4 separate regions of the Homo sapiens genome follow, and regions 1, 3 and 4 are each linked to region 2. The links are contacts of gene promoters, found by promoter capture Hi-C in blood cells and fetal thymus (Javierre and others, 2016). All regions are on one chromosome and are shown on one strand. The core of a region is centred on a gene start or on the middle of the fragment in contact, and the rest is flanking DNA. Distances in the headings are between cores, read along the strand shown. Region 1 holds the start of CELSR2 (cadherin EGF LAG seven-pass G-type receptor 2). Region 2 holds the start of GPR61 (G protein-coupled receptor 61). Region 3 holds the start of PSRC1 (proline and serine rich coiled-coil 1). Region 4 has its middle 36 kb from the start of AHCYL1.

Region 1 (5,868 bases), core at 3,358-5,857, 290 kb before region 2:
AATAAATACCTGAAATGAGGAAGGAAGGATGGATGGATGGATGGATGGATGGATGGATTGATGACTGGATGGATGGCAGAGAGGGCTGACCAGATGTCTCTTTATACCTGGAGCCACCATCTGGTAGCCCAGCTGGGTCTCTAGGCTACTCTAAGGGCAGCTCTAAACTCATTCACTTTACCCACAAAACTGCATTCCTGGCCAGGCACAGTGGCTCACACCTGTAATCCCAGTACTTTGGGATGCCGAGGCGGGCGGATCACAAGGTCAAGGGTTTGAGACCAGCCTGGCCAACATAGTGAAACCCCATCTCTACTAAAAATACAAAAAATAGCCGAGCATGGTGGTGCATGCCTGTAATCCCAGCTACTTGGGAGGCTGGGCAGGAGAATCACTTGAACCCGAGAGGCAGAGGTTGTGGTGAGCCGAGATTGTGCCACTGCACTCCAGCCTGGGCAACAGAGCAAGACTCCGTCTCAAAAAAAATTAAAAAAAAAAAATACTGCATTCCCTGACTCTCAGGAGCTGCCTGCGGAGGGGCCCAGGGCTCAGGCACCTCATTTTCCTCTCATTCTTCAAAAATTGAGAGACATAAAGCAGAGTGTCAACAATTATTGAATCCAGACACCAGGCACAGTGGCTCACATATGTAATCCCACTTGAGACCAGGATTTGAGATCAGCCTGTGCAACACAGCAAGACCCCCTCTCAAAAAAAAAAAAAAAAAAAAAAAAAAAGCTGGGCATGGGTGGCCTGCACCTGTAGTCCCAGCTAGCTACTCAGGAGGCTGAGGTGGGAGGATCACTTGGGGCTGTTCTCAAGCAGTCAAGGCTGCAGTGAGCTATGATCACACCATTGCACTCCAGCCTGGGCAACACAGTGAGACCCTGTCTGAAAAAAATAAAATAAAAATTGTTGAATCTAGCAGGAGAATATCTGGGTATTTATTATACCATTACACCATTCTTTTGATTTTTCTGAAGGCTTGAAATTTTCCCAAATAAAAAACTGGGGGAGATTTTTTAAACCTAAAAATGTTTATTAGTTTAAAAAAAAATTACTTTCACTGCCGAGCAGAGACTGGTTTGGAGGGGAGGTGACCACATGAAGAATCCATAAAATCCTGACTGAGTATCCCCCTCTGTGACAGACCTGAAGTGGGGAACTGAGAAACAACAGAGCCCCCACAAGGAGTGCACCTTCCAGCCTTGAAGAAAGTGGGGAACAGTGGGCGGGGCACGACAGGCAAGTGTAGACCGAAGGGTGTTCAGATTTCTGGCCACCCCCATCCCCCAGTCTGCTGGCTCCTGGTTCCTTCACGCCACCCACCCCACAGTCCAGGAGCTCCAGGAGTCACCCATGGCCAGGTTCTCTCCTTCTGGTTTCTGTGCCCTTTCTAAAGCAGCACAGAGCCCAGAAATGGGATCGGGTGCCAGGGCCTCTTTCTCTTTCCAGAGAAACTGCCCTGCCCACCCACAAAAGGTCACCATGACCGATCCCATCAGCAGCCTCCCTCCCCACCCCTCCTTCCCAGCAGGCCATTGGTTCCAGAATTTCAGGCCACAGGGATCTGCCCAAGGCAGAGCTCACCTTGTTCTTCCTCACCAGCGTGCTAGGCCACAGCAGAGCCACCCCAATCTTCAGCTCCAGCCAAGCTGATGCTTGCATTTCATTCATTCCTTTCATTCATTCATAGTGTACTGCTTAAGAGAGTGGGCTCTGGGGTCAGATTGCCGGGGTCCAAATCCTAGCTCTTCCATTACTAGCTGTATAATCATGGAGAAGACACTTAATGTGTAGATTAAGTGACTTAACTGATGAATTCCTCTTCCAGGAATGCTGTTCCTGATTCTTGAAGATGCAGCCCAAGTCCCGTCTCCTCTAGAGGCCCTCTGGGATTTCCTCCACCCTCACTGCTCTGTCCTCTGAATTCCTTTAGCCTTTTCTCTCAGTTGCTTCTGGAGCACTTCACCCATGCGACCCTGTTGTGTTGAAAGCCAGGGCCATGCCTTATCCAGGGGGTCCTCAGGAAGCAACCTGAGTAAGGAAATCCCACCAGAGCTAAAGGACAGCCGCAAGGCTAGCCAAGCAGGTTTCCTTCCTTCCCAGAGCCTCCACTGTGAAGTGGGAGGTTTGGACTAGAAGAACAATAAATTCTCTTTTAACAGACCCCAAGCCCTTGCTGCCCCTTGATAGCACCTAAAAGCTATGCAGAAGGGAGGCCTAAATGTCCCTTACACACAGGAGGGAGGTCCATAGGTTCCTTACAACTGGAAAGCTCCATGAAGCAGGCAGCCCTTCCCTGGGGATCAGGGAGGCCTCCACCAGGGCAACCCCTCCCTCATTTGAGACTCTCAGTGATGCATATGAAACTTGGAAATTTCCCTCCTGCTTTTGGGAGTTGGAAGTATCTGAGGAAGTGATGGGGAGAGAGCTCTGTCCTGTGCCCCCGGAGGGAGGACTGGGGAGGATTAAGGACTATTTGCCAAATGTGCTTGGGGATGAAGGAAAGGGTTCCTTGGATCCCCCAACCTATCTGCCTTTGGGTGGAAAGGCCACCCACCTGGAAGGGGCTTCTGAGCTCATGCCTTCCCTGGCAACCCCTGCCTCAAGGTGCAAGGCCCCAGAACCACCTTCCGTGATCCAGAGCCAGGGCTACTCTTTCCTCCCACCCAGAAAGCTTATTTTAGCAACAAAGGGAGCGAGATGAATGGAGAGTTGCAGCTTCTCCACGGGTTGGCTTGGGCCTTCACCAGAAATGAGAGTCTCATTACCCAACCCCAATTCAAAGGATAATTAACAGATGGTATAATTTCCAAGCATTCTCTGCACCACATGGCTATTAGGTGAAGAACAAAATGCCCACGCAGCCCCTAGATCCTTCCAAACTCCAGAGTCTGAGGAAGTCTAGAGAGGCAGAGCCCTGCGGAGGCGTGTAACCCACGCCTCCATCTCCAGAGCTGCCCTTGGCCTTGCTCAGAGGAAGAAAGCTCCTGTTTGGTCAAAGGGGAGGGCATTTCCTTGAGCCATGGGTCCTCCTCCTACTTCTATCCATCCTGCCAGGAGCACAGTCTAACCCTAATCTTTCTTGCTGTACCCAAGGCCCATCTCCTTTCCTGTTTCCCCAGGGGAAAAGAGAAAAGCTGATTTCTCATCCTTGGCCTCACTGTGTGGTCACACAGACACTCCTTGGGCCTGGGGCTGGGGGATCCTCTGCTGTGACCCAGTGAGAGTGGCACCACTGTGACCGGGGGCAGTGGTAGAAGGGAGCACCTGATCCAGTGCTTTTCAGATGGGTTCCTCCAGACCCTCAAGTTGCACAGAGCAGCCCAGGGATTTCTTGGTTGGGGGAGTGGTGGAGAGGGGCAAGGCCCTGACCCCCTCACTTCAACCCAGCAGCACTACTCATCTGTTCTATATTCTGGCCTTCCACTTCAGATTTCTTTTGAAGAAAAGAATTCTACTGCTAAATAAACATTTGAGAACCATTCACCTTATTCAATCCCCTCATTTTACAAAAAGGGACATTGAGGCACAGAATTTGAGCAAGGTCACATAGCTGTGGTGTTGGAGGCTGGGACCCAGGCCCAGGCATCCCCCCAGGCCAGGGCATCCCCCCAGGGACTACCTGACTGGGCCCCTGGCTGCTCCAGGATGTAGGGAAGCCTTTTCTGGGTCGCCTGCACGGCTCCTGCCTGGCTCTCCGTGTGGTCCAGCTTCATGTCTGGTCCTCTTGGAGAACCCCTGGAATCCTGCACACCCTCTCAAATGAAGCTGCCTTGGAGAGGGTCAGGAGCCCGGGTACCAGGTAGGCCTCCTCGCTGGTCACAAAACTGTGGCGGAAGGAGGGGGTAGCCGCAGGACATGGACAGGGAGGCAGGAGGGGATGAGAGGCCGCCTCTCTAGACAGGACCTCAGGGGGCAGTGTAAGCCCCTTGTCTAGAATCCAGGAAGCCTGTGTTAAAGCTAGGCTCCACCGCAGCCGGCCTCCGAATCTGGTGACAGTGTGTTTGCACCACCTGGCTTCCACCCACTCTGACCCTTCTAATTTACTTCCCTGGAAAAGCCCAAGTGGTGTCCAACATGAGGCTGGGGTCATTCTTCCAACAGCCCGACCCCAAGGGGCATGCTGGTCAGACAACAGCCTCGCTGGTGGGGTGGAGGGGACGGTAGGGAGCGAGTGGGCCCGGTGACTCATTGTGGGTGCTTCTCTGGGATTTTGGAGGCTTTGTTGTGTTGCTCAGGGCCCTTTTAACTCTGTCTGACCTATGGGAGGGGACAGCAACGAGGGCTTTTATGACTGGAATGAACTGGAAACTTGGCCTCTGAGAGCCCTTAAAATGTTTTGGAAACCTCTAGGCATACTTAGGGTACTTCCACCATGATTATCATCGGCTGTGTGGCTTCCGATCGCTAATTCGCACCGGGCATCTGGCGAGGCCGGCCTGGGGAAATTGGGATGGAGGGTCCTGCTGGAGGGAATCCTGGCGCTTTGGGCGGAGGAGTGCTCTGGGTGGGGCCCACCTCCTCCAGCGCGGCCGGCGTTGCCGCTTTAAGGCGGCCGCGGCGCGAGCAGGTCTATGGTAATGAGCCGCCGCCGCGACTCTGCAGAGCTCGCCCGCCCGCCGGGGAGGCGAGGGAGCGCGGGGCTGGGCCCGGGGCCGCGGCGACAGGCAGCAGCCGCGGCGGGGACGCGGGGCGCGAGCGGGCGGCGCGGGACCGTCGGGGGCCGCCGGGGCCGGGCCGGGGTCGGGGCGCACGGCTACGCGGGCGCAGGTGGGCGATCCCATAGGGGCGGAGGGGGCACCCCGGCTCCGGAACCCGGGGCCCGGCAAGGCCAGGGGCGCCGCGGGGCCCCCGGGCGCAGGTGGTGAGTGCCCGGAGCGCAGGTGGAGGCGCGGCGGCAGCCCGCGGTGCTCAGGGTGACCCGGGAGCGGGTCTGGCTCAGGGGGCAGTGGGAGCCCGGGCTCGTCGGAGGGTGCAGCGCGGGGTCCCGCCGAGCCATCCAGACGCAGGCCCCGCGGGGCGCACGGGAGGCCCCCGGGGACTGGCGCCCTGGCCCGGGCATGAGGCGCGGCGGGGCCGGCAGGAGCCGGAGGAGGAGCCGCCGCCGCCGTTGACCCGGCCGCCGGCCGGGAGCTGGGAGAGATGCGGAGCCCGGCCACCGGCGTCCCCCTCCCAACGCCGCCGCCGCCGCTGCTGCTGCTGTTGCTGCTGCTGCTGCCGCCGCCACTATTGGGAGACCAAGTGGGGCCCTGTCGTTCCTTGGGGTCCAGGGGACGAGGCTCTTCGGGGGCCTGCGCCCCCATGGGCTGGCTCTGTCCATCCTCAGCGTCGAACCTCTGGCTCTACACCAGCCGCTGCAGGGATGCGGGCACTGAGCTGACTGGCCACCTGGTACCCCACCACGATGGCCTGAGGGTTTGGTGTCCAGAATCCGAGGCCCATATTCCCCTACCACCAGCTCCTGAAGGCTGCCCCTGGAGCTGTCGCCTCCTGGGCATTGGAGGCCACCTTTCCCCACAGGGCAAGCTCACACTGCCCGAGGAGCACCCGTGCTTAAAGGCTCCACGGCTCAGATGCCAGTCCTGCAAGCTGGCACAGGCCCCCGGGCTCAGGGCAGGGGAAAGGTCACCAGAAGAGTCCCTGGGTGGGCGTCGGAAAAGGAATGTAAATACAGCCCCCCAGTTCCAGCCCCCCAGCTACCAGGCCACAGTGCCGGAGAACCAGCCAGCAGGCACCCCTGTTGCATCCCTGAGGGCCATCGACCCGGACGAGGGTGAGGCAGGTCGACTGGAGTACACCATGGATGCCCTCTTTGATAGCCGCTCCAACCAGTTCTTCTCCCTGGACCCAGTCACTGGTGCA
Region 2 (5,254 bases), core at 1,472-3,971:
ACACCCTGACTGAGATCATTTAATAAGATACAGCATAAGAAGTGCCTCCCAAAGTGGGCCTTCAAGAACTAGTAGCATTATTATTATTATTATTTATTATTATTATTTTTTGAGACAGAGTCTCACTCTTATTGCCCAGGCTGGAGTGCAATGGTGCGATCTCAGATCACTGCAACCTCCACCTCCTGGGTTCAAGCGATTCTCCTGCCTCAGCCTCCTGAGTAGCTGGGATTACAGGCATGTGTCACCATGCCTAGCTAATTTTTGTATTTTTAGTAGAGACGGGGTTTCGCCATGTTGGCCAGGCTGGTCTTGAACTCCTGATCTCAAATCATCTGCCCGCCTCAGCCTCCCAAAGTGCTGGAATTACAGGCGTGAGCCACTGTGCCCAGCCAGCATGATTATTATTATTATTTATTATTTGCCCACAGGCTAGAATAAGCAGTTCCCCCGCCGACCTCCTGAGCCAAGATGGTTCCAACAGCTGGAACATGCTGCCTCTTTGGTACTGCCTTTCCCAATAGCTCTCTGGGAGGGGCTTCAGGACACGGACGCCTTGCCTGCTGGCCACCACATGAGCTGTGATTACCTGTGCTAGCTCCCTGAAGCTGGAGAGGCAGGCTATGTTTGTTTTGCAGGCTCCCTACCACTATTAGATAAGCTTGGAAGTGAAGAATTTTGCCCATTTTCACAGACAGCCAACTCACAGGCCAAGGTCTTACCACCAACCAATAGAATGGCGCCAAACTGGAACCAAGGTTTTCTGACTCCAGTCTAGCGCTCTTTCTAAAATCCTGTTCCAGTGGGCCCAGGTCTGCTCCAGTTCTTATTGAATCCCTCGGAAGGGGCCATGCCAGTCTGGGCTGGGGCCCTGCAGGAAGAATGTGGGTGCTGAGCAGGGACAGGCTTTACCTAATCCCAGACAATCTGCTTGATGCCAAATTAATCTTGCCAACACAACAGCACAGGGCTTCCTAAAAATCACTTTGCTGTCTACAGGTTTTCAATTTGGTATTTCCATTTGAATTTCTTGTACGCAGGTATGCCTAATTTTGAGGTCTGTTTTAGGCTTTCTGGAAGGCAGTGACTACTTCTATGAAGATAGCTTTTAGGGCTGTAGTCCACAGTCTTGTGTCAGGCCACTGGAGAGGCCACGGAACGAAGGGAGAAGGAGGAGGAAATACTTGGACTTCAAACAGATCTGGGTTCAAATATCAGCTCTTGCACTTATTAGCTGTGTGATTTGGGGAAAGTCACTTCTCCTCCAGCACCCGGTTCCTCACTTATAAAATAGGGCAAGTCATGGCTGCCTCATAGATTGGTGTGGGGATCAAAGAAACTGTATGTAAAGGGCCTGGCACTCATAACAGCTCAAAAAGTGGTGGCTGGTGACAGCGGCACTTGCTGCATCGGCTCTTGGTTTGTCAGTGGCCTCTTTGTTTTTGACCTGGGGCTTGGGGCAGCCAACTTGTCCCAGTGAGGTCCTTGGGTAACTCATTGTTCTTATGGCTCTTTGGGTTGGGTCTGGTAAACAATTCCAGAATTCCCTTTTTCCTTCTTAGAGGCAGAAGGAGTCCCTAGATAGGCAAGTCTCAGGGAAGCAGGCTCTGGAGTAGGGGATCATGCCTGAATTCCCTGTTTAGACTCATGGCTCTGCCATGTGGAGCTATGTGGCTTTGAGCAATCTCTTTATCTCTCTGGGTCTCAGAAACATGGATACCTTGGCCTGTAGGATGTCCTACAGCTTTGCAATGTTAGGATTCTATCCTTGGGTATCAGTCATGTACCCGGGTAAATGATCATTTTCTTCATAGCTAGAGGGAGGCCATGCCCCTTCATTGCGTCTCTGAAGGCCCATCATGCCACAGATGGGCGATGCTCAGTGGCTGATGCTACCTAGCTCTGTCCAGTCCCACAAATCCAGATCAGTGTGAGCATTCCTGAGTCCCTGGCCCCCACTCTGTCTCCTTCAGGAAGCAGTGTTGTGGTGGTTCCCATGGTGGCTCGGGGGGATGTTAGATCCTCCCGCCCCCTCCCTGCCAATCTCCATCAGCCCTCACAGCCCCAGTTCCAATAAACATACAATCTAAGCAAATAATAATAATGTGCTTTTGGGAGGCAAGGGCAGGGTTAAGACAAAGCCTTCAGCTGCCCTTCAAACCTGAGTGCTGCTCCTAAACCTGTCCCCCATACGCATTAGGCAGCTTCCAAAGGGGCCAAACCTTGGACCATCCCCTGGAGCCTCAGCCGCCTCCCTGGCCTAAGCCTTGGGGCCCTGGGTCTGCGCTGACCTGCCTGCATCAGCACCTTGGTTCTGATGTCACACAGAACCATGCATCTCTCCTATCTTCTCTTTGAACTGCTAAGAAATCAAGGCCAAAATGCAACTTGCCCAAGGTCACACGGCTAGTAAGTGCCATAGCCAGGCCTTAAACCTGGATTTTCTGACTCCATGTACTTTTTTTTTTACTTCATCAGGCTGGTCAAGAGGGTCTCCCCTACCTATCATTTCCTGGCCCCACGAAATTTTTGAGACGCAATCCAGCAGCCTGAGAGAAGTGAGAGGAGTTGAGCTCACTGCCAGGCACCTTGCCTGGGGCATTGGTGCCCACCTTTTTGCTCCAGAAGTGACTCTGAGGGGCTGGGTGGGAAGCAGGAGGCCATTAGGACCCAGAGGCTCTCGGAGCACTCTGCTTTGCCGGCTGCCTCTCACCGCTCACTGCAGTGCTTCAGGCTTCAGCAGCCTTGGAGAAGCATCAGCTGAGAGGAGCTATCACATGGGAGCCGGGACTGCTCAGCAAAGGTAGGAGTTGCCGACTAGGCCAGGAATGGGGGCCAGACCCAGAGCCTGGTGGTGAGTGCCAAGGTATCCCCACAGAAGGGTGGCTTTCCAAGGACCAGCCCTGCCTACATTCCGGTGAGCAGTTTGATCAGGAGATGGGCTCTCAGGTATCCCAAAGGCGGTATTGGGGTGTGGGCATCTCTGAAGCCCAGAGCTGGGGGGTTGATCATCTCCTGCCGGCAGGAGTACCCACATCCTGCAGACAAACAGCATTCTCCATCTGTCTTGCTCCATGTCATGGACATGGGTCTCCCACATTCTAGGAATGGGCCCTTCAGCATACAGGCTGATGGGCAACTGTGTCCTGGGCGTGGGCAACTCTGCTGAGGAGAGGTGTTGTAGCTCCCTGGAAATCTTCCCTAGCTTAGGAGGGGCACGCTCTTGTCTGAAGGAAGGCCAGGCTCAGGTCTTTGGGATGGAAGCTCTGGATCTGGAAAACAGGTGCATGTGAATCCCAATACCTCTGTGGCCTTGGGCTGGGCACTTATGCACATCTTGCATCCTGTAACTTGACCATGCCCCTGCTAGAGGCCCAGACCTCAGGCCCTAGTGGCAAAGCCTTCTAGGTACTGAAGGTCCTGGAGGTAAGAGGGGTGCTGTTGGAAGTAAGTAGTGGGGGAAGGAAAGCATCTGTTGGGGGAGTAGGCATAATGATATGACCTGGGAGAGGAGTGAGGCTCCCTGGGTTTCACCTATGAAACTGTTACACCACAGCCCTCCCCTCCATAACCCCAGTCCATTAGTGAGGGAGTGCCCATTAGCCAGATACACTGATCTGTCTGTTAAGAGGTAAATTGGAATCCTGGCATTTAGGAGTCACTGTGGAGACACTGGCAAGCTTGAGGGAGCTATGAAAAAGAGCAATGTCCAATGCCTTCTTGCTCAGGGCTCCATCATGGCTTCGTGGCATCCCTCCAGCTCCACGTGGAAACCAGGTCTGCTTCCCTCCGTCTGGGACTCTTGATGTCCATCCAGACATGGTGGGCCTCTCCTCCTTCAGCCACCAGGGAGGGACTCTGAACCACATCCTCTGGGCCTCACTCACAGACAGAAGGGATAGGTAAATCAGAGCATGGAGAGTAAGAAGGAAGGATGCTTCTCCTAGCATTTCTTTCAGGCATTTTTCCTGGTAGACTCTAATGAGAAGCTGATGTCTCACTTTTGTGCCCGCTCTTCAACTTCTCTGCAGACTCTAAGTCTCTGTGGGCATCTTAACTGTGAAATGAGCTTTCTGTGTCCCTAGAGAGAGGCACGTCTCTAGGCAGTTGCCCAAAGTTAGGGCTTCCTCAAGTCCAGGAACCCCGGCTACCCTTTCCACAAGAGAGTCCCTTGGCTGGCACACAGCTGGCTGACTGAGTGTTCTTGGAGTTTGTCCTAGGGGGCAGGGATTCAACTACCAATTTGAGTTTGATTCAATTCACAAAATTGTATTCAGCACCTATTGCATGCATAGCATGTTAGAAGTTGGATTGGTGTAAGGTTTATGGAAACACCAAAAACCAAAGGTGACTGTAAGGCTATAACTGTGGAGGAGAGTGGGGCCCATCTTGCCATGTGATCCTCTTTATTGCAGCCATAGAAATGATGGGTTTTTAAACTGAGCAACCTCAGTGTCTCCTCCCTACTTCTTGTTCTGTGACTGTAGTAAGTCTAGAACCAATGCGGCTCTTGGTCAGGGATCCTCCAAGGGTCAGCTCCAGAGATCAGAGATTTGGGGATCTGGGGAGCAGGAGGTTGGCAGCAGCTCCTTTCCCACAAGAGGGGCACAGTGGCCTTGAAGAGTTCATGAGTGGGTGGAGAAGGGCAGCTTGAAGCAACTTCCGGCTTTGGGAGCAGTGGAGGCTGGATGAGCTGGCCTCCCAGTTTCCTTCCAGACGGGACATTTTGTTTTCACTGCTCCTACTCAACATTCCCAAAGTGGCAGCTCTTTGTGCTGGGAGTAGTGATGTCAAAAGAGCCTAAAGCACAGCTCCCCTTTTCAGATGATAACCCTAGGGCAGCAAGAGACAGTTTTAGAGACAGCTGAAATTCAACAACTATTTACTGGATGCCTATTATAGTCCAGCCGGCACGGAGGGCACCTTCACATATGGCATGGCACAGTGGGCAAGAGTACTGGACCTGGGGCCAGACTGCCCAGGTAGGTGCCCAGCCCTTGCCGCTTACTAGCTGTGCGACCTTGGGTAAGTTACTTAACCTTTCTAGACCTCAGCTTCATCTCTTGCAAAATGGAGATAAAAATATTATCTACTTCATAGGGTTGTGTGAGGAATAAAATGAGTTAATATAGGTAGAGTGCTGAGAACAGGGTCTGGCATGTGGAAAACGCCGTATCAATGCTACTGCTTGTCATTAGTATTATTATTAACAAATCACGCAGGATCCAGAAACACAGTTGTGAAGCAAGTGTTC
Region 3 (5,891 bases), core at 1-2,500, 260 kb before region 2:
GGCCTCATCGAGGATCTCCTCCAGCTTCTCTGGACTGAGGGGGCCTAGGCTGAGCCTCACACCCTGGGGGGCAGGTGCCACTGCATTTGGGTCACTTCGGTGGGAGAGGCCCCGTCGAAGTGGTTTCTCTGGAGTCACCAACACTGTTATGTCTTCCTCCTCACGGCTGAGACAGGAAACAAACCAGGCATCATGCCCATGCAAAAGGGAACAGGAGATTATGCAAGGGAGACTGCATAAAAGCCCCACAACAGAGCCAGGGACATGACCCTAGGCCCCGATGCCCATGCTGGCTGTGAGATGTGGCCTCTGGGCGATGAGATACCTGGTTCTATGGGGCCTAATAGGCCTTTAGCATTTACGGACATCAGAAATGATGCCAGGATGGAGATGCAGCAAATCCACTTATCCTTCTTCTTAACACCCTGAAATCTAACTCCAGCTTCTCCCTTCTCTCCCCGCTACCAATAGTGTCATAGAGGCCCGAGTCAGCCAGCCGCCCAGCAGCCCCAAGTGCGCCAAACCTTGCTAAGTTACCAACCCAAGCCAATAATTCAGCAGTAAGGGATTCGAGACAAAGAGGTACTGTTAGAGGAAAATAAGTGGGATAAAGAGGCTGGTACCTGTCAGATGGTGACAGCCCCCCAAAGTCCAAGGTCTCATCCACAATAAACCTTACATCTGAAGGGGAAAGAAGAATGAAAGCCAGTCATGGGTCCCTGATGCAGCTCTCCATCGCTGGGTCTCACTCCTCCCTTTCATTCTTCCCTCCCTCCTTTCCTTACCTTCCTCCAAATCCTCCATGTCCAGCCAGCAGGAGCGAGAGTCCAGTTAGATCTGAGCTGGAGAGAAACCATACCTTTCCTCAGGTATCCATTCTGCCCAAGGCTCGCAGCTAGATTCAGGGTGCAAGCCAGGGTCGGGGGTCATGCTGGAGGCAAAGCAAGCGCCCAGGAGTGGCACCTCCCGCACAGCTACTCCTGCTACCTCCGGGAACGATACGGAGGGCTCCCCCAACTGCCCAGATTGCCCTGGAGCCGCCCTGCATCCTGGCCTCTCCTCACTGGGGGCGGCCTGCACGCCCCATCTTCCTCCCCGCCACTATCCTCAGGGTTCTGCACTCCCCAAGCCACCTTTCCACTCCCCTGGCATCACACGCGAAGCACACCTCCAGCCCACCCTGTGTCCACTTCCCGCGCCGCCTTATCTTCCACGCAACAGGCTTTCTCCCGCAACCTAGTCCCGGGAATCAGCTCCGAGGGGGCGGGGCTCCTTTCGAATCTCTCAGGCCCCACCTACTCAAGCCACACGCGCACCGTGATTGGTGAATCCTCAGGGGGAGGGGCTGAGGAGCTGCCGGCCGGAAGTCAGCCGGTGGGGGCTGGGGGAGAACCGTTCCCAGAAGACTGCATCCCGGTGGCGGAGCCGAGGGTTGAGGCTGCGAGTGCGCGTGCTCGCGTGCGCGGAGACTCTCTTTCCCGTAGGCAGATGGGAGCAGAGCGCGGCTGGCCAGGAGGGAAGAAACGGACCCACGAGTATGGAACTCGCGCCCCGCCCCGCTCCCTCTGCTGGGCCGCCGAGCACCCAGTCTCCAGAACGGTTGTGCTGCCTAACGTGGCCGCTAACCGACGCTCTACGGGAGGAAATTCGTTTTCTTGGGCGCACTCAATATGCAGGCGCCGCATTGGCCGAGGTTCCTCAGTTGTGGGTTTTTTCCAAGTTAAGGGAGCACCTAAACACTTATATTGTAGGTATATTGAGGTTCTCTTAGAAGTACATCCTCCATCGCCTCTTCAAGAACCTGAGGCAGCTGAGGTGCAAAGAAAGCAACGGGCTTTTCACGCAGGCAGGCTTAGGTTCAAATGCAACCCAAGTTTAACTGACCTCAGAACCCAAGTTTCGGTTTAGAGGCGGCTGCCTTGAGTATATTTGCCCTCTTTTCACCTCTCTTCGCTTATCTGTGAAAGGAGGATGTTGGTCCTCGCAGTTACGGTGTTACGAGGATAATTATGAAGGCGTTTTCTACCGTGTGCCCTTAGGGGATTTAGAGGGGGTGTTTGTAAGTAGCCCCCTCTGAACTAAAAGCAGTATTTGTAAAATGCTTAAACCAACTTGTTAGGAGTGTTGTCTCTGTTGTTTCTAAATGTTGCCCGGGCCACCAGTGAACTTGTCAGAGGCTTCAAACCAGAACGACTCCATCTGGAATAGAGGCTGGGTAAAATAAGGTTGAGACCTGGGCTGTATTCCTAGGAGGTTAGGCATTCTAAGTCACAGGATGAGATAGGAGGTTGGCACAAGATACAGGTCACAAAGACCCTGGTGGTAAAACAGCATGCGGTAAAGAAGCCAGCCAAAACCTACCGAAACCAAGATGGCGATGAAACTGACCTCTGGAGGTCCTCAGTCCTCATTATACGCTAATTATAATGTATTAGCATGCTAAAAGACACTCCAGACAGCATCACCACGGTTTACAAATACCATGGCAACATCAGGAAATTACCCTACATGGTCTAAAAAGGGGAGGAATTCTTAGTTCCAGGGAGTTGCCTACCCCTTTCCCGGAAAACTCATGAATAATTCATCCCTTGTTTAGCATATAATCAAGAAATAACCATAAAAATGGCCAACCAGCAGCCCTCCGGGCTGCTCTGCCTCTGGAGTAGGCATTCTTTATCCCTTTTCTTTCTTAATAAACTTGCTTTCACTTTATGGACTTGCCCTGAATTATTTCCTATGCAAGGGCCAAGAACCCTCTCTTGGGGTCTGGATCCGGACCCCTTTCTGGTAACAACAGGAGGAGACAGCAGGTCCGCACAAGATACAGATCTCAAACATCCCTCTAATAAAACGGTGCAGTAAAGAAGCCGGCCAAATCTGCCAGAAACCAAGATGGTAAAGAAAGTAGGCCAGGCGCGGTGGCTCACGCCTGTAGTCCCAGCACTTTGGGAGGCCGAGGCGGGCGAATCACGAGGTCAGGAGATCCAGACCATCCTGGCTAACACGGTGAAACCCCGTCTGTACTAAAAATACAAAAAATTAGCCGGGCGTGGTGGCGGGCCCCTGTAGCCCCAACTACTCGGGAGGCTGAGGCAGGAGAATGGCGTGAACTTGGGAGGCAGAGCTTGCAGTGAGCCGAGATCGCACCTCCGCACTCCAGCCTGGGCGACAGAGTGAGACTCCGTCTCAAAAAAAAAAAAAAAGAAAGTGACAGCTGGTCATCCTCACTGCTTATTATATGCTAGTTGTAATTCATTAGCATGCTAAAAGACACTCCTGCCAGCGTCCTGACAGTTTACAAATGCTATGGCAACGTCTATATGGTATAAAAGGGAGAGGAGCCTTCAGTTCCAGGAAATCATGCTCCTTTCCCAGAAAACCTATGAATAATCCACCCCTTGTTTAGCATATAATCAAGAAATAACCATAAAAATAGCTTACCAGCAGCCCTTGGGGCTGCTCTATGGAGTAGCCATTCTTTTATTCCTTTACTTTCTTAATAAATTCACTTTCACTTTACTCTGTGGACCCGTCCTGAATTCTTTCTTTTGAAAGATCAAAGAATCCTCACTTGGGGTCTGGATGGATCAAGACCCCTTTCCAGTAATAAACTGAGCTCCTAGAAAGGTTCTGAATATTTAAAGTGAAAAAGCCCTAAGGGAATGGTTGAGGAGCTTTCTGGTAAACAGAACCTGAGCTTTAGTCCTCAGAGTTCATGCCCATTTTTTTGGCCATTTATAGGCTTTCTTGTTTACTTTCTAGTTTTTGGCTGTGACGTTGAGGTGGTGAGGTCTGCAGGAGTGAGATGTCACTGTAATAAATGCCACCAGAGACCAAGAAGCTGGAAACCAAAAATAAAATTCTAAGCCCCCCAACCAACTGAATGGACCCCTTCTCTCTGACAAGGGCATTCCAGATTTAACCTGGAAAACTAGTTCAGGCCATAATGGAAAGTGGGGGTTGGACATGCCTCATTATACTCTCTGCCCTTTGGGAATCAGGCACAGCTGACCAACATTAACATTAAAACAGAGATCTGGCCAGGGGGCGGTGGCTCACGCCTGTAATCCCAGCCCTTTGGGAGGCCGAGGCAGGCAGATCATCTGAGGTCGGGAGTTCAAGACCAGCCTGGCCAACGTGGTGAAACACCATCTCTACTAAAAGTACAAAAAAATTAGCCGGGCATGGTGGTAGGCACCTGTAATCCCAGCTACTTGGGAGACTGAGGCAGGAGAATCGCTTGAACCCAGGAGGCGGGGGTCGCAGTGAGCTATCACGCCACTGCACTCCAGTCTGGGTGACAGAACGAGACACTGTCTCAAAAACAAAAAAAACAAACAACAACAATAACAACAACAAAACCACAAAGATCTTAAGGCTAAGGAAACAGACTTTTTTTTTTTTTTTTTTTTTTGAGATGGAGTCTCACTTTGTTGCCCAGGCTGGAGTGCGGTGGTGCAATCTCAGCTCATTGCAACCTCTGCCTCCTGAGTTCAAGCGATTCTCCCGTCTCAGCCTCCCGAGTAGCTGGAATTACAGGCACACGCCACCAAGCCCAGCTAATTTTTGTATTTTTAGTAGAGATGGTGTTTCGCCATGGCCGTGAACTGCCTCAGGTGATCCGCCCACCTTGGCCTCCCAAAGTGCTGGGATTACAGGGATGAACCACCACGCTTGGCCAGAAACAGACTTTTTGTAGCAATAATATTACTGGAAAGGGGTCCCAATCCAGACCCCAAGTGAGGGTTCTTGGATCTCACACGAGAAAGAATTCAAGGCGAGTCCATAAAGTGAAAGCAAGTTGATTAAGAAAGTAAAGGAATAAAGAATGGCTACTCCATAGGCAGAGCAGCCCGAGGGCTGGTGGTTGCCCATTTTTATGATTATTTCTTGATGATATGCTAAACAAGGGGTGGATTATTCATGCCTCCTTTTTTTAGACCATATAGGGTAACTTCTGGATGTTGCCATGGCATTTGTAAACTGTCATGGTGCTAGTGGGAGTGTAGCAGTGAGGTCACTCTCATCATCGTCTTGGTTTTGGTGGGTTTTAGCCGGCTTCTTTACTGCAACTTGTTTCATCAGCAAGGTCTTTATGACCTGTATCTTGTGCTGACCTCCTTAGGATCTCATCTTGTTACTTAGAATTCCTGTCTGGGAATGCAGCCCAGTAGGTCTCAGCCTTATTTAACCAGCCCCTATTCAAGATGGAATTGCTCTGGTCGAAACGCCTCTGACAATAAGACGCCAAATTCCAGCCTGATTCTAGTATAGTATCACATGACAGACAGTAGGCCCTGAAAGAAATTAAAGTATTTTACCTCAAAATATATTTTTCTTTTCTTTTTCTTTTTTTAGAAGCAAATGAAGGACAAAGTTTACTGTTCTTTTTTTTTTTTTCCTTTTGTTGTTGTTGTTGTTGAGACGGAGTCTCACTCTGTTGCCTAGGCTGGAGTCCAGTGGCACGATCTTGGCTCACTGCAAGCTCCACTTCCCGGGTTCACGCCATTCTCCTGCCTCAAGTGGCTGGGACTACAGGCACCTGCCATCATGTCTGGCTAATTTTTTGTATTTTTAGTGGAGACGGGGTTTCACCGTGTTAGCCAGGATCGTCTCGATCTCCTGACCTCGTGATCCGCCCGCCTCGGCTTCCCAAAGTGCTGGGATTACAGGCGTGAGCCACCGCACCCGGCCCACAAAATTTATTTTAAAAGATGCTGCAAATTCACTCATCTGCTTCAAATAACTCCTGTCCTTTGGGATCCAGTTATGGGCAATGTACACGAGACTTTACCAGTGCAATATATATATTTTCAATAGGTCTTTGGGGAACAGGTGGGGTTTGGTTACATGAATAAGTTCTTTATGGTGATTTCTGAGATTTTGGTGCA
Region 4 (5,717 bases), core at 488-2,987, 410 kb after region 2:
CCACAAATTGATTCAATTTATTATCTTAAATATCTGGAGTTCAGAAGTCTGAAATTGGTCTCAGTGGGCCAGAGTCGAGGTGTGGGTCGGGCTGGTTCCTTCCAGACACTCTGAGGGGGAATCTGTTTCTTTGACTTTTTCAGCTTCTAGAGGCCTCCTGCATTCCTTGGTGTGCGCTCCCTTCCTCCGTCTTCAACGCTCATCACACCAATTGCAGCTTCTGCCATCACATTGCCTTCTCTTCTGTGGGGAGATCTCCCCCTGCCTTCCTCTTATAAGGACTCTTCTGATCACCTTTAGGGCCCACCTGGGTAAGATGGCATTCCTAGTTTCCAGACACGAGGACCTGGATCTGTTTGGGAGACATTATTCAGCCTACCGCAATTATTATTACACCAACAATTTACCTATTATTTGTATATTTATCTGTATCTCCAGTACACTGTGAGCAACTTGAAGACTAAGACTGTACCTTATCTACCTCTCTATTCTCGTCTCCTAACATGGCTCCTCAGATACAGTAGGTGCTTAATAAATAATGATTGTGTGAATGAACAATCCCATACTTACAGACTTCTATTGCTTGTGCCTTAGGGAGCATCACAGCACAACATTCCAAAGAAATCTAAAGCTAACTTTTTTTTTAAAGCCTTAAAATAAATGTCAGTCTTTAGCACAATTATCTTGGGACATAGAGGAGAAGATTATACAACACATTGCACAGCAAAGCTTCCGAAAAATGCCCTGAAGACATTTCTTCCCTCCTCCAGACCCCTTCACTTAGTCCCTGCACTTGCCCGCCCATCCACTGCCTCAGCCAGCGAAATCTGTAACTTTTCCCAGGGAAAATGCACAAGCATCAGGATTTAATTTTGACACTACCCACTCTCAACCAATGGGCAGGCAATCAGCAGGAAGAAAAAAAAAAAAGCACTATCTACTTCCTAAATTCTTGGATGTGTTTCTCAATCTGTCTCTCACACAGTGAGGTCTTCAAGGCACCCGTGGTCTAGTGCCCAATGACCCCATGACTCCATTTGGGACCAGTCCTGCCTCACTCGAAGCAATTCAAGGAGAACTGCCTCTAGCCAGGGTCCCAAGGCTGACTGTGAGACGGCCTCTGGTGAGGGGAGAAACCTGCCTGGTAGCCCAACTGAGACCTGAAGGCTTAGGGCATCCAACCTTCCCACGCCAGCCTAGCATCTCCAGTGTAAATAACTTGAAGGCTTTCTTTCTTCCTCCTCCCAGATCCTCACTGTTTTGGGTAGCTCTTGGTTATAAATTCCTGATGCTTCTATCTGATCCAAACTTTCTTATTCTCTGAGCTGTGCTCCCAGGCACTTTGCTGCATGGCAAGATAACCTTAGTACAAAATAATGATAGGAGCTTGCAGTTAATGAGAATCCCAATGTGGGAGCTTTCCCTGTTTTGTTGCACCTAAACCTCACTGCATCCCTAAGAGGAAGGTGCTGTTGTTAAACTGAGCCACAGGCGTGTAAGTGACTTGCCCAAGGTCACACAGCTAATAAATGGTAGAGTCAAAATTCAAAGCCAGGGCTGGGTGTGGTGGCTCACACCTGTAATCCCAGCACTTTGGGAGGCCAAGGCGGGTGGATCACCTGAGGTCAGGAGTTCCAGACCAGTCTGGCCAACGTAGTGAAACCCCTTCTCTACTAAAAATCCAAAAATTAGGTGGGCATGGTGGTGCACACCCGTAATCCCAGCTACGCGGGAAGCTGAGGCAGGGGGAATTGCTTGAATCCAGGAGATGGAGGTTGCAGTGAGCCAAGATCATGCCACTGCACTTGAGCCTGGGTGACAGAGTGAGACTACATCTAAAAAAAAAAAAAAAAAAAAAAAAAAAAAAGAATTCAAACCCAGGCAGTCTGGCATGGCATGCAGGTAGGCAAAACATCTCATCTTCCTGTTTACCTGCATTATGAGTTGGACAAATAAATTGTAGCTCCTCTCCGTCTTGCCATGTTTCCTGTTTAGAACTTTCAGGCATCCCGTGGCATTTACAGAAGGCTCTGGGTTCACACAGGCGAAATTCCCTCACAATGGATCTTTACTCTGGAATTTTCCCGTCCCAAGGCCTGCCACTCCTGCAGCCTTAGAAGGCACTTCCTCCCTGGTCCCATGCTCCCTGCGAAGTTCTCTACTTTCCAGGAGCGTGGCTTACAGCTTCCTCCTTTGGGCACCCAGTTCCTAATGAAACTGAACCTTTCAGTCCTGCCTGCCTGGGCACCCTCCTCTCTTCATCTTACTGCAGGACAAGTGTGTCCATGAGGCCGAGTTAATAGCGTCCATGAAGTGAAATGAAATCGTTACTTCAAGCCTCAAGCCTCACCAGGGAGTTTCTTAGACTTTTCAATCTGGCAGGTTGGCATAACCCTGTGTAAGAGGATTCTTCACCTAGTACAGTAAGTTCTGGGCAGCGCATTGTTCCAAAGATTAGAATTCTGATCTCAGGGGTGACCTCTCTTGGCTTTATTACAGAAAAATCACACTTCAACATCTCAGGTGGTAGCACTGCTGTGTTGACATTCACATTCTTTCATGTTAAAAAAAGTCCCCAGATTTTCATTCTTAATTGTCCAGTGTGTTATTATAAGAAAAGTTGCTTAGAATTTCCTCTATTATTTGGCACCTGAGTCATTTTCAAGTTTCACTTTTTTACACAGTATGAAACAGATTGATTTTTTTTTGTTTGCTTAATTTTTGGTTTATTTACTTCCTTGTAGATAAGCTTCCAAAAACAGAATAAATACTCCAAAAGATATGAGCATTTTTACTGCCTTTGATGCATATCCTTTTATTGTTTAAGAGATTGCACAAGTTCACATTATCACCAGCAACATATAAGTACCTGTTTCCCCACAGTTCTGTTAACATGGGATTTATTACTTTTACTAGCTTTTTGCTAGTCTAATAGTTCTAGAATGATATGTTAAAGTTGTTTAAATGGGCTTCTCTTTATTACTTTCAAGGCTGTATTTTTTTATGTGATAATTGTTCTTCCTTTTTGGGGGGAATAAACTGTTCCTCTCCTTTGACAATTTACAGAGTAGAATCCAGACACAAGCCAGTATTTTCTCCATCTATTGTTTTCTACTTGGGGATAAGCTTTTAATATTTGTCACATCTTTTATTTCTATAGCATAGTCTTGTATGTAGCTGCTGTAAAGTTCAGAGTAATCTTTATATATTTGGCCAGGTGTGGTGGCTCACGCCTGTAATCCCAGCAGTTTGGGAGGGTGAGGCGGGCAGATCATTTGAGGTCAGTAGTTCGAGACCAGGCTGGCCAACATGGTGAAACCCCATCTCTTCAAAAAAATATGAAAGTTAGCTGGGCGTGGTGGTATGTACCTTTAGTCCCAGCTACTTCTGGGGCTGAGGCAGGAGGATCGCTTGAACCCAGGAGGTCAAGCCTGCAGTGAACGAAGATTGTGCCACTACACTCCAGCCTGAGGGACAAAGTGAGACCCTGTCTAAATAACAATAATAATAATAATAATATATGTTTATATTTCTCTACCTTGTCCTTAATAAATTTTTTTCATTTCTTCAATAGTCAGACATTTACGACCCCTTCAAACATGAGATAACCATGTTATTTTTCCCATTTAAAAAAATACTAAGCTGGGTGCGTTGGCTCACGCCTGTAACCCCAGCACTTTGGGAGGCCGAGGCTGGCAGATCGCTTGAGGTAGGGAGTTCAACACCAGCCTGGCCAACATGGTGAAACCCCCTCTCTACTAAAAATACAAAAATTAGCAGGGTGTGGTGGTACATGTCTGTAATCCCAGCTACTTGGGAGGCTGAGGCAGGAGAATCACTTGAACCCAGGAGTGAGAGGTTGCAGTGAGCCGAGATCACGCCACTGCACTCCAGCCTGGGTGACAGAGTGAGACTCCGTCTTAAACAAACAAACAAACAAACAAACAAAAACTGGTGTAGGTTTTACTCTAATCATCTGAAATTTATATTATTATTATTATTTTTTTTTTTGAGACAGGGTCTCACTCTGTTGCCCAGGCTCAAGCGAAGTGGCATGGTCTTGGCCTCACTGCAGCCTCGACCTCCTGGGCTCAAGTGATCCTTCCACCTCAGTCTCCTGAGTAGCTGTGGTTACAGATATGTGCCACCATGCCTGGCTAATTCTTGTATTTTTTTTTTGTAGAGATGGGGTTTTACTATGTTGCCCAGGCTGGTCTTGAACTCCTGAACTCAAGCAATCTGCCTGCCTAGGCCTCCAAAATTGCTGGGATTACAGGCCTGAGCCACGATGCCTGGCTGTATTATTATACATAATGCCATGTATTACTCTAAGATATTAAATTCCCTTTTTATTGTTTCATTGCTCAAACAATTAGCAAGCAATGAACTCTTTCTGCCTTGTGTTACTTCTGCTTTGTCATAAATTAAGTTTATAAAATAGAATAGCAGTGCCACAGGAATTTCTGTTCTATCTCATTCATTCATTCATTCATTCAACAAATATGTGTTAAGCACCTACTATGTGCCAGGTACCATTCTGGGTGCGAAGGATACAGCTGTTAACAAAACAAACATCCCTGCCCTCATGGAGCTATATCATTCTGGTGGTGGTGGAGACAATTTAAAAATAGATAACAGATGGATAAATAAATAATAAATAAGACAGGAAAAAGTGATAGGGAGCCTGGCATGGGAATGAAAAGTTGAACTTTTCTCTGGGAATCTTAAGGAGGACCTCATTGAGAAGATGCTGTTTTAGCAAAGCCCAAAGGAGGGGAGGGAACAAGTATGCAAATATGTGGGAGAAAAAAGGGTTCCAGACAGAAGCGCAAGTATAAAGGAACATCAAATTTTGTGACCTGGAAAGTGCCTAATGCATTCAGGCCTAGTGAGAGGCCAAGGTGACTGCAGTGGAATAAGTGACAGACAGAACAGGAGAGGTGACCAGACATGGAAGGGCGAGAGCAGATCTTGCAGGGCCAGGTCATGCATTGTAAGGACTGTGGTGTTTACTCAGAGGCAGATGAGAAGTCTAGGATGGTTTTGCACAAAGGAAAGGCAGGATCTGACTTAGCTTATCAGTGCCACCCTGGCTGTGGTGCTAAGAAAGTTTTGATCAATGTACTTTTTGTAATACATTTTAAATCCTGTGAAAGCCCTACTTTTTTTGTATCTTTTCTTATTTTCTAAGATTGTTATCTATTATTCTGCTTCTGTAATTATTTTGTAAGGCCTTAAACTGGTACTACATGAAATCTATTAACTTTGAAACACTGTCACATTTATTATATATGTATTTTTCCAATAATAATCTGGTGTATCTCTCCACTTATTCATATCCTCCTTTACTTTTACTGCTATAGTTTAGTAACTTTCTTGGAATAAATCTTGTGGCTTAAAGAAAATCCTCAAGCAAATTTATTTTTGGTTCGTGGTTATGAATGGAATCTTTCTCTCTTTTATTTTATGTTTTTATTAATATGCAGCTATATTTCACTGACAGAAACGCAATTGTTCTATGTGGGTTTCTTTTGGCTCACATCTTTGCTAAATTCATGTATTATTTATAGTAATTTAGGGGATACTATTCTTGGAACATTCAGATAAATAATCACGTCAACTGGAGTAGTATTTTTTACCCTAATTGTTTTTTTCGGTTTTTTTTTTTTTTTTTTTAAGATGGAGTCTCGCTCTGTTGCCCAGGCTGGAGTGCAGTG

What was found. The method cuts DNA at HindIII sites, captures the fragments that hold promoters and counts their contacts. A CHiCAGO score of 5 or more calls a contact.
Region 1: a contact is called between the fragment with the promoter of CELSR2 here and the fragment with the promoter of GPR61 in region 2, in 12 of 17 cell types (naive CD4 T cells, erythroblasts, total CD8 T cells and 9 more). The highest score is 9.7, in naive CD4 T cells.
Region 3: the fragment with the promoter of PSRC1 here is called in contact with the fragment with the promoter of GPR61 in region 2 in 8 of 17 cell types (activated CD4 T cells, naive CD4 T cells, total CD8 T cells and 5 more); the score reaches 11.3 in activated CD4 T cells.
Region 4: a fragment that was not itself captured here is called in contact with the fragment with the promoter of GPR61 in region 2 in 3 of 17 cell types (M2 macrophages, M0 macrophages and erythroblasts); the score reaches 5.8 in M2 macrophages.

What each region holds. Positions count from the first base shown.
Region 1 is chr1:109,244,932-109,250,799 of GRCh38, forward strand. CELSR2 (cadherin EGF LAG seven-pass G-type receptor 2) reads left to right here and starts at 4,608. Exons shown (of 34, transcript NM_001408.3): 1 at 4,608-5,868. The coding sequence starts at 5,149. RefSeq lists an enhancer at 3,925-4,645 and silencers at 4,647-4,706, 4,867-4,966. The HindIII fragment of the contact is 8,037 bases long and covers 2,679-5,868 here.
Region 2 is chr1:109,537,151-109,542,404 of GRCh38, forward strand. GPR61 (G protein-coupled receptor 61) reads left to right here and starts at 2,722. Exons shown (of 2, transcript NM_001393907.1): 1 at 2,722-2,803. RefSeq lists enhancers at 2,235-2,736, 2,737-3,236. The HindIII fragment of the contact is 3,019 bases long and covers 660-3,678 here.
Region 3 is chr1:109,281,895-109,287,785 of GRCh38, forward strand. PSRC1 (proline and serine rich coiled-coil 1) reads right to left here and starts at 1,251. Exons shown (of 8, transcript NM_001032291.3): 1 at 1,169-1,251; 2 at 786-842; 3 at 624-681; 4 at 1-166. The coding sequence starts at 804. RefSeq lists enhancers at 1,620-2,345, 1,713-1,762. The HindIII fragment of the contact is 13,254 bases long and covers 1-5,891 here.
Region 4 is chr1:109,945,714-109,951,430 of GRCh38, forward strand. No RefSeq gene overlaps it. Among named protein-coding and RNA genes, the nearest start is that of AHCYL1, 36 kb to the right of the region's middle. The HindIII fragment of the contact is 2,020 bases long and covers 728-2,747 here.